Linked DNA regions of Homo sapiens: region 1 is linked to region 2. Evidence: promoter capture Hi-C in human tissues and cell types (Jung and others, 2019). All regions are on one chromosome and are shown on one strand. Each heading gives the region's core, a stretch centred on a gene start or on the middle of the fragment in contact. The rest is flanking DNA. Distances are from core to core; before and after follow the strand shown.

The links. Contacts are between HindIII fragments. The study calls those that stand out against the background at their distance.
Region 1: a contact is called between a fragment that was not itself captured here and the fragment with the promoter of HIPK2 in region 2, in 1 of the 25 tissues and cell types used here (IMR-90 fibroblasts).

Annotation. Positions count from the first base shown.
Region 1 is chr7:140,150,978-140,155,561 of GRCh38, reverse strand. All of the region lies in intron 1 of KDM7A (lysine demethylase 7A), which reads left to right. Among named protein-coding and RNA genes, the nearest start is that of KDM7A, 24 kb to the left of the region's middle. The HindIII fragment of the contact is 5,386 bases long and covers 1-4,584 here.
Region 2 is chr7:139,776,748-139,780,766 of GRCh38, reverse strand. It overlaps HIPK2 (homeodomain interacting protein kinase 2), which reads left to right and starts at 2,769. Exons shown (of 15, transcript NM_022740.5): 1 at 2,769-3,162. The coding sequence starts at 3,144. It also overlaps a transcript of TBXAS1 not described here. RefSeq lists silencers at 2,424-2,653, 3,084-3,173. The HindIII fragment of the contact is 11,506 bases long and covers 1-4,019 here.

The sequences.
Region 1 (4,584 bases), core at 1,181-3,680, 380 kb before region 2:
GTCTTCTTAAATTGCCCACTCCGTATTCTGATACACTGGTGACAAAAGGATGACCCTAGCCAGGAATGGAGTCAAGCTGTGCAAAAGGGATTTGGCAAATATCACTTAAATAAACCTGGCAGTCAGGGTTGGAATTTTTGAAATCAGAGTGCTTGTGGTGCTAGATTATACCTTTGAATTCTTACCCTAGGATAGAAGCTATGCCTGGTGGGTAAAGGTAGCCCTGGCTTCCAGGTAATCTTATCTAGAAGAAAATCATATGGCTGGCTTAGAGATATGTTATATCTTGCTTCTTATGTAGGTCTTGTATTTTGATCTACATAAGAAGATTTGACTCAGTCATTAGACTTCAGCCTAGAAAGTGCCTTACAAATACTTGTTAATTATGTTGTAATAAGGGTAATTGGAGACAAACAATTTGTTTGTTTCTTTTGAGGTTAAAAAGATAGTTTTAGAAAGTTTTAGTGTATGATCAGTTATTGACTTCTTTGGTTCATATGTATTCATTAACGTGCTTTGTTAGTAGTCAGTAAATGCTTGGTAATGCTGTCACCATTTTAGTCTCCTGTGTTGATAAAGGGGTGGTTTTACTATACACTTGGTTTATTGGTACTTTGTACCAATTGTAAAATTGCAAAACATTAAAAATGTTTTAATTTTGTAAATTTAAATCATAAAGTTGTAACACTTATAATTATAAAAACAAATTTATAATAAACTCTTCATAGCTGATGAGTCTGAAAATTAGCTTCTAAGGCAATTTTCCAAGGTGGAAAATAATAACCCATGAAGTGTTTTGTGGGGAAAAAAAAAGGGAGAGAGAGAGAGAAAGACCCGAGGTTGGGTACAGTATTTATCACTTATGCTTGATCCCCATCATGGAAATTGAAAGTGCTTGTTAACTTGTTAAATTCACTGAGAAGTATTGCTGGTAAATGAAGGTGATTCGATCTCAGCCCAGTGTCTCCCTTATGTTTCTCTTACGAACTGTGGAATCTTTTTGTGAATAACTTTGACTCCTGCAGGACACTGTTTTTTGTCTTTTTTTTTTTTTTTTTTTTTAATTTTAAGAGACAGAGTCTTACTTTGTCTCCCAGGCTGGAGTGCAGCGGTGCAGTCAGCTCACTACAGCCTCAAACTCCCGGGCTCAAGCAGTCTTCCCACCTTAGCGTCCTGAGTAGCTGGGGCTACAGGTACATGCCACCATACCTGGCTAATTTTTAAAAACTTTTTTTTTTTTTGTAGTGACGGGGGTCTCATTATGCCCAGGCTGGTCTTGAACTTCTGGCTTCAAGAAGTCCTCCCGCCTTAGCCTCCCAAAGTGCTGGGTTTTTAGACATGAGCTACTGTGCCTGTCCAGGACACTTTTAAAAAAAATGTTTTTTAAGGGAATGCTGTAGAGCCAGTCCTTGCTTTGCAGGGTTCTGGTGTGCACTGATTTCAGTTACCATTAGATAACAACACTAGTCACCCAGGATTCAAATTTCAGTCACCATGGTGTGTTACCTATGAATGCATAAGTACAGACTCTTCAGTATGCAGATCAGAAATCACTGCAAAAATAACAGGCACGCGTCTGTTCTTCAGTTTACACGCAGACAGGAGAGCATGTTTTGCTGCCTCCTTGCCTCTCAGTAATAAACTTACATGACCTATTAGCAAAATAGATAATCGAAAGTGGGAAGTGGCCAGTAAAAATGAAAGAGCAACAAAGAAACAAAAAATGATAACTCTGGAAGTAAAATCCAATTGAGCATAAATGGAGTAATAAAATAAGTAACTGACAGTGGGAACGCTGCCACTGCCGCCATTTGCGGAACTCTAGACAGGCAGCCAGAGGCACTTAGTGAAGGCATGCTAAATGGCATAATGTTTTAAATTATAGTGTACTAAAGAAGTATTAGTTTTACTGTTTTTTCATTTCTCTGTACATTATAACCAACAGTAAGAGAGTTCTTAATGCTTTGACAAACATTTTTAAAGTTCACCAGAACAATTGTGATTTCCCCCATTGATTATTAAAATCACTTGGCATGATTTCAGCTTGTGTGATTACTTTTTTTTTTTTTTCTTTTTGAGACGGAGTCTCGCTCTGTCGCCCAGGCTGGAGTGCACTGGCGTGATCTCGGCTCACTGCAAGCTCCGTCTCCTGGGTTCACGCCATTCTCCTGCCTCAGCCTCCTGAGTAGCTGGGACTACAGGTGCCTGCCACCACGCCCAGCTAGTTTTTTGTATTTTCAGTAGAGACGGGTTTCACTGTGTTAGCCAGGATGGTCTCAATCTCCTGACCTCGTGATCCGCCCGCCTCGGCCTCACGCATGGTTACTTTTATGGTCCTGCACTACCATGCAAAGTAAGGACCGCCTATATTTTCCTTACATTTGCCTGTCATCGATCACGTGACCTTTAGTGGAAATTAAGAATTACAAAATGGCCAGCACTTTGGGAGGCCGAGGTGGGCGGATCACGAGGTCAGGAGATCGAGACCTTCCTGGCCAACATGATGAAACCCTGTCTCTACTAAAAATACAAAAATTAGCTGGGTGTGGTGGCGCGTGCCTGTATTCCCAGCTACTCGGGAGGCTGAGGCACAAGAATCGCTTGAACCCAGGAGGCAGAGGTTGCAGTGAGCTGAGATGGTGCCATTGCACTCCAGCCTGGTGACAGAGCGAGACCCCGTCTCAAAAAAAAGGAATTACAAAATGGACTTTGAGGAACCTATAATGACAAATTATCTTTTGAAGGGATCCAACATGTGAATAGGTTAAAAATCCTTCTTACACTTTATGTACTTTACATATTGCCCTGACTTGTATGTTTCGAAATAGAATGGTCCAGTGCTTGCTGTTGACCTTTCCTGGCAACTCAGCGTCACCTATTTTGCTATTGATGGATACTTCTGATTTGTAATTGTGTTGGATTTCTTTTTTTTTTTTTTGAAACGGAGTCTCACTCTCGCCCAGGCTGGAGTGCAGTGGGATGATCTCAGCTCACACTGTAACCTCCGCCTCCCGGGATCAAGTGATTCTCACGCCTCAGCCTCCCAAGTAGCTGGAATTAAAAGTGTGTCCCACCACGGCCAGCTAACTTTTGTATTTTTAGTAGAGTTGGGTTTTGCCTTGTCGCCCAGGCTGGTCTTGAACTGCTGGCCTCAAGCAATCCATCCTCCTTGGCCTCCCAGAGTGCTAGGATTCCAGGTGTGGGCCACCACTTCTGGCCATGTATTAAAATTCTTTGAGGTCTCTGGGTCATATATAAATTTCCACGTAGGATGTTGTTACCAGTTATGTCAAGATTTTTGTGGTTCAGACCCCTACTGTAACTCGTCTTTCATCAAGAATGAAAAAGCATACTAAGGATATTAAGTTCTCCTTAGAATGTTGCCTTAGTTTCTGTTCCAGCAGAGAGGCCTTTAATATGAATGCTTTCTCTTGGCTTGGCTTGGTTTGGAATGTGTTTATTCCCCTTAGATGCAGGCACTGAAGACTATTTATGAGATGAGAAAGGTTAGTAGGAAAACTAGATCTACTTGATTTGCCTTAGTTGACTCTTGTCCATTGTAGTTGATTCATCACTAAGTGTCCTAGATATATGTTTTTGCTATTATCTTTTATCCCAAGGTATGATCTTTTATTCCTGTATATATTCAATCTTCTGTAGGTTTCATTAGGCCCTAGAAAATATAGCTTTCCCTTCTGTACTTGCAATGGGAAATAAAACTGTCTGCTGGATTGGAGAGTTTCAGATGCTTATTCATTCATCTTTTAAAGATCCTATTTATTTCATTTATAATCCATTTGTCTTCTTCTTTTACTGACATTCCAAATGTCAGATTAAGATAGGGACATTTAGGAACTACATGAAAGGAAAAGTAAATGGGCATAATATATACATTTGTGATGAATGAAGACCTTTTTTCCTGTACAAGAGGATTATAGTTGCCTGAACCTAAATAATCAGGAATACTGTGTCCTTTTTCATTGAAAAAGGTATGGACATTTCAGAATAAATTCTTGAAAGAAAAAAATAATCAGTTCTGTACTTTCCCCCTCACATTCATTTTCTATCCCTTTATATTTGCAAAATTTATATTTAAACGGGCTCCAAGATGGTAGCCCAAGCGAATGTCTCCCTGATGTTCTTGGCATTCCTGCTTTGTGTCAATCAGTAAATATTGTGTGAGAATCCACTATGTAATCAGCTTTAGGTAGATCTGTGGGCAATGGGAAATTCTGAATTAAATATTACCCATGTCTTTAAGGAGCTTAAAGTCCAACGAAGCTTTCATAGAAAGTCACTTCCTATGAAAATTTGGTGTCGCACTAGCCATGATGCTAGAGTTTTAGATCAATAGTTCCTCAGTGCCATTTCTCTGCTGAGATTGCTGCAAAAGAATCACCTGGGGAACTTGTTAAGAACAGAGGTTATTGTGGCCGGGCACGGTGGCTCACGCCTGTAATCCCAGCACTTTGGGAGGCCGAGGTGGGTGTATCACCTGAGGTCAAGAGTTCGAAACCAGCCTGGCCAACATGGTGAAACCCCATCTGTACTAAAAATACAAAAAATTAGCTGGGTGTGGTGGCT
Region 2 (4,019 bases), core at 1,520-4,019:
GCAACAGGCAGGAAATGTTCTGTGAGCCTAAGGAAAGATGAGACAAAAGTCAGTGGGGCTGGTCAGAGGGAGGAGTTAGAATAATAATAACTTTTATTGAACCCCTACTATGTGTCTGCCCTCTATATAAAACTCTCTCTCTAATCTAACCCAGCCTCAGAGGCTGTGATGAGGACTATATGAAATGCCTTTTATCGAGTTTGTAGTGTTGTGCTGGACACAAGGGAGCATGCAACAAATTGCAGCTATCATCCATTCAACAAATATGTGTGCAGTACTCACCATGCGTTAGGCAATGCAGTTATTGGACATACAATCCAAAACAAGAAAAACATGGTTTCTGTCCTTACTGAGCTTACAGTCTAGAGACACCTTGTCCAAAATGGTAGCCACTAACCACCCATGGTTATTAAAATTAAAAATTCAGTTCCTCAGTCATACTAGCCACATTTCATGTGCTCCACAGACATAAGTAGCTACACTGCCATTATGGCAGCAAGTTCTAATGGCCAGCACTAGAAAGGGGCAGAGAGACATGCATGTAGGGTATGTATTAACAGGGAGTTACATACCTGTGTGGTGAAGGCTATGATAGAGATTTACAGATGCAAAAGGAGAACATTACTATTGTTCTCCTTCTCATAATCAAAATACAGACACTGAGGCTCAGAGAGGTTAAGCATTTTGACCAAGATCACATAGTTAAGTGGAAGAGCTAGGATTTGAACCTAGGTCTGACTTACTCCCACGCTATCTCGGGCTGTTTTGTGGAGGAGGTGAGCCAGGCACAGGTAGAATCTGCTTAAAGAGAGAAGATGGAGAAGGTACCCCTCTGGGAAAGTGGGTGGGAAAGTGACCGCTTGGGCAAAGGCACAGTGACAGAGATGGGTGAAGCTGGCACTGGGCTACAAGTAAACCAGTTTGGCTAGAGAAGCAGTGACTTGCTGAACTCATGTCCTTAGAAAGCTAAGTCAGGACTCGCCTGCCTTGATGAAAAGCCAAGGCACTCAGCCCCACCTGCAGAGGTTGAGTCCTTAGAGGATGTTAGCCAGGAGCGTGGCATGGCCAGAACCACGTATTATGAAGATGGCAATATTTAGGATGACCTGGGCCAAGACTAAAGTTAAAGATTGCAGGGAGGATAGAAGGGAAGGAGATAAATGACCGGTGTGGAGCAAAAAACACTAGAGTGGGAGCCACGAGACCTATTCCTAAGCTTCAATACTGTGTGACATTGGGCAACAGATTTTACTTCTCTGGACTCCATTTCTTCAACTCTAAAAGGGCAGGGCTGGCCCAGATGACCTCTGAGGTCCTTTTAGCAACAGTAGTCTAGGATTCTGCAAACGTGAATGGCATTAGGTTAAGAGAAGGGATAGGAAGTGTAGCATTGATTATGGGGGCAAGGAAGACCGCAGAGTACAAGATCACACAGAGGAAGGTGTCGTGATGTACCACTAAAAAAGTGTGAAAGAGCTTGCCTTTTTTGGGAAGGACTGAAGGATGGGAACGGAGGATGGAGACCGGAAAGGATAAGAAGTAGTGAGAAAATCACGAGGTTGTTTTTAAGAAAGTTATACAGTGTTAGAGATCATTATTTTACACAGATAGCTTTTCAACTTTTTTAAACCCACGATTCACAGACGGAAATAAAATTGACATCATGGTCCAGTACACTTGTCCAGTACCTATAATCGAAACAAAAGGTTTATGAAACAATAGTTGCCCTTACTAAGGGCAATGGACTCTAATATTTTCTATTGGATTCCATTTCGTTCTTTTTGAAAGCTGGTTGCCTTCCGCTGCATTTATTTTATGATCTATTACTGTGTCACGACCCACAGTTTTAAAAACAGTGCCTAAGAGGAGACTCAACAAGTCTTCCTAAGTTGGAGGGGATGGCAGGGCATCCTATCCAAGCATCCGGGAGGCAGCTGGAGAAGCAAACCTGGAGAGGCTCCCGGCTGGGGAGAGTCTGGAGAGTGTTTAGCGGAAGCCCTGATAGGAGAGAGCGCTGAGAAAAGCGAGGACCCAGAGAGTTGTGAGCTCCCATTCAAGTGATGGAGTGGCGGCCCTCGGGACAGTGTAGACGCGAGGAGGAGAAGATCAGGGTGGCGTGGAAGCCAGACTCCGGCAGGAACCCAGCGACCACCCCGGGGGCTGCATTTCCGCGGCGTGCACGGCAGGGCTTCGGTGCCTCTGACCTCGTGTGGCTTTCCGAAGCTCCTCCACTCACCCGCCCTCCTCCGGAGCACGGCGCGCGCCCACTCCTTCATTCATTCATTCCACTCCTACCTCCGCGAGCGCCAACCGGCTGTGAGATGGGCGAGCCACTTTGCCAGCGTGGGGCTCTCTTTCGGGTCGGTTCCCTCCCCGCCAGCACACGCGCGAACCCTCGCACCTGGGCACACACGCGCGCGCGTGCACACACACACACAAAGTTCTGGGGGCCCCTCTGCAGACCGGCTCGGCTGCGCTGGGCTCGGAGCCGTGCGCCCGCCGGGTCCAGGCCGGCCCTCTCACCCACTACCCGGGGCCCGCCCTGCGCCCAGTCCCCCCGCGCTGCGCGGCAGCCCCTCCCAGCGCGGTCCCCTCGGGCCGCCGGCGCGGCTCTGCCCTTCGGTTCGGCCTTCCCCGCCTCGCATCCGTGCCATCGGCGCTCGATTGCGCGCGGACTCCCTGTGGCTCTCCCGGCCCCGCGCCCCGCCCCCGCCCCCGCCCGCCGCCCCCCTCCGCCAGCAACTTTTGCGGAGCCCCCGCGCCCAGCCATGCTGAGCTGAGCCCCGCCGGCCCTGGCCGCGCGCTGCCCCCGGCTCCCGCCCCTCCGCGGATCCGCTCGGGGGCCGCGGCCGCTCGGCGCCTCGGCCTCGGCCGCTCCGCCCGCCCGGCCGCCCCGAGCCCCGAGCCCCGAGCCCCCCGCGCCGGGCCCGGGCGGCAGCGGCGGCGGCGGCGGCGGCGGCGCGCCCGGCCCCCTCCCCCGGCGCCGGCCACGGGAGGCGGTGATGCGGGCGCGGGCGGCCTCGGCTGCGCCGAGAGCGGAGACACAGGCTCAAGATGGCAGATTCCGACTGAGGCTGGGGGGGCCGAGCTCGCGCGCCGCTTTCCCGTCCCCGTTGCCATGAACCGCGGACACCCCGGCCCCGATGGCCCCCGTGTACGAAGGTAAGGGGCGCCCGGCCCCGCCGACCCCGCGCCCGCCGCCCTCCGCGGCCCCCGCAGCTTTGTTCTGCCCGCGGCCCCGCGCCCGCAGCCCCCGGCGCCTGCCCCAGCCCCCACCCGGGGCCCGAGGGGGCCGCGACCCCCTCCCTCGCCCGGAAGATGACCGGGACCCGGCGCCGGCAGGGTCTTGCTTCCAGGGCGGGGAGAGGGGCCGGGGGCGCAGGAGGGGAGGGGGCGTGTGCGAGGGTGGGCGGCTGCCCGGGGAGGGCAGGGACGCCGGGGAAGGCGGACCGGTGACTGTGCTTTTTATTTATTTGCGATAAATGAAGGTGATGCGGCTTAGCTTCCACCGCCCCCCCACATTACCTTTCGGAGCACCTCCTTTCCACTTCGCTCTCCGCCCCGCGCCCCTTCCCATTTCTTTCCGCGCCCACCCCACGCTCCTTTATTCTCCGCGAGCCTCCGATTTTGGGGGGGCTGTGGAATCGGAATGCACGGGGCTAGGTGGGGAGAGAGGAGAGAGATGAAAAGTCCATGTCAGAGCCAGGCAGAACAATGAAATAGGCGAAAATCTCCCCTCATTAGCGTGTGGAAGGGGACGTGGACTTTGGGTTTTCCAGCCGGGGGAGCGGCGGAGACGTTTTTCTGGCTCGGTCTGGGTCGATCTGTGTTGTGCACCTTCACCTGGCATCGGGGTATTTTTCCCCATTTGACTGCCTTTAGCAAGAAAGAAAAGAACGCAAGGCAGAAAAGCAGTAGGTCTGCCTCGCACACTGTCTTTCGTTTCTCTTCAGTCCGTTCTGTCAGCTTCCAGCCAGAAAGCAACCCAGAATCAACTAAGTTTTTACACTTCGATGTGT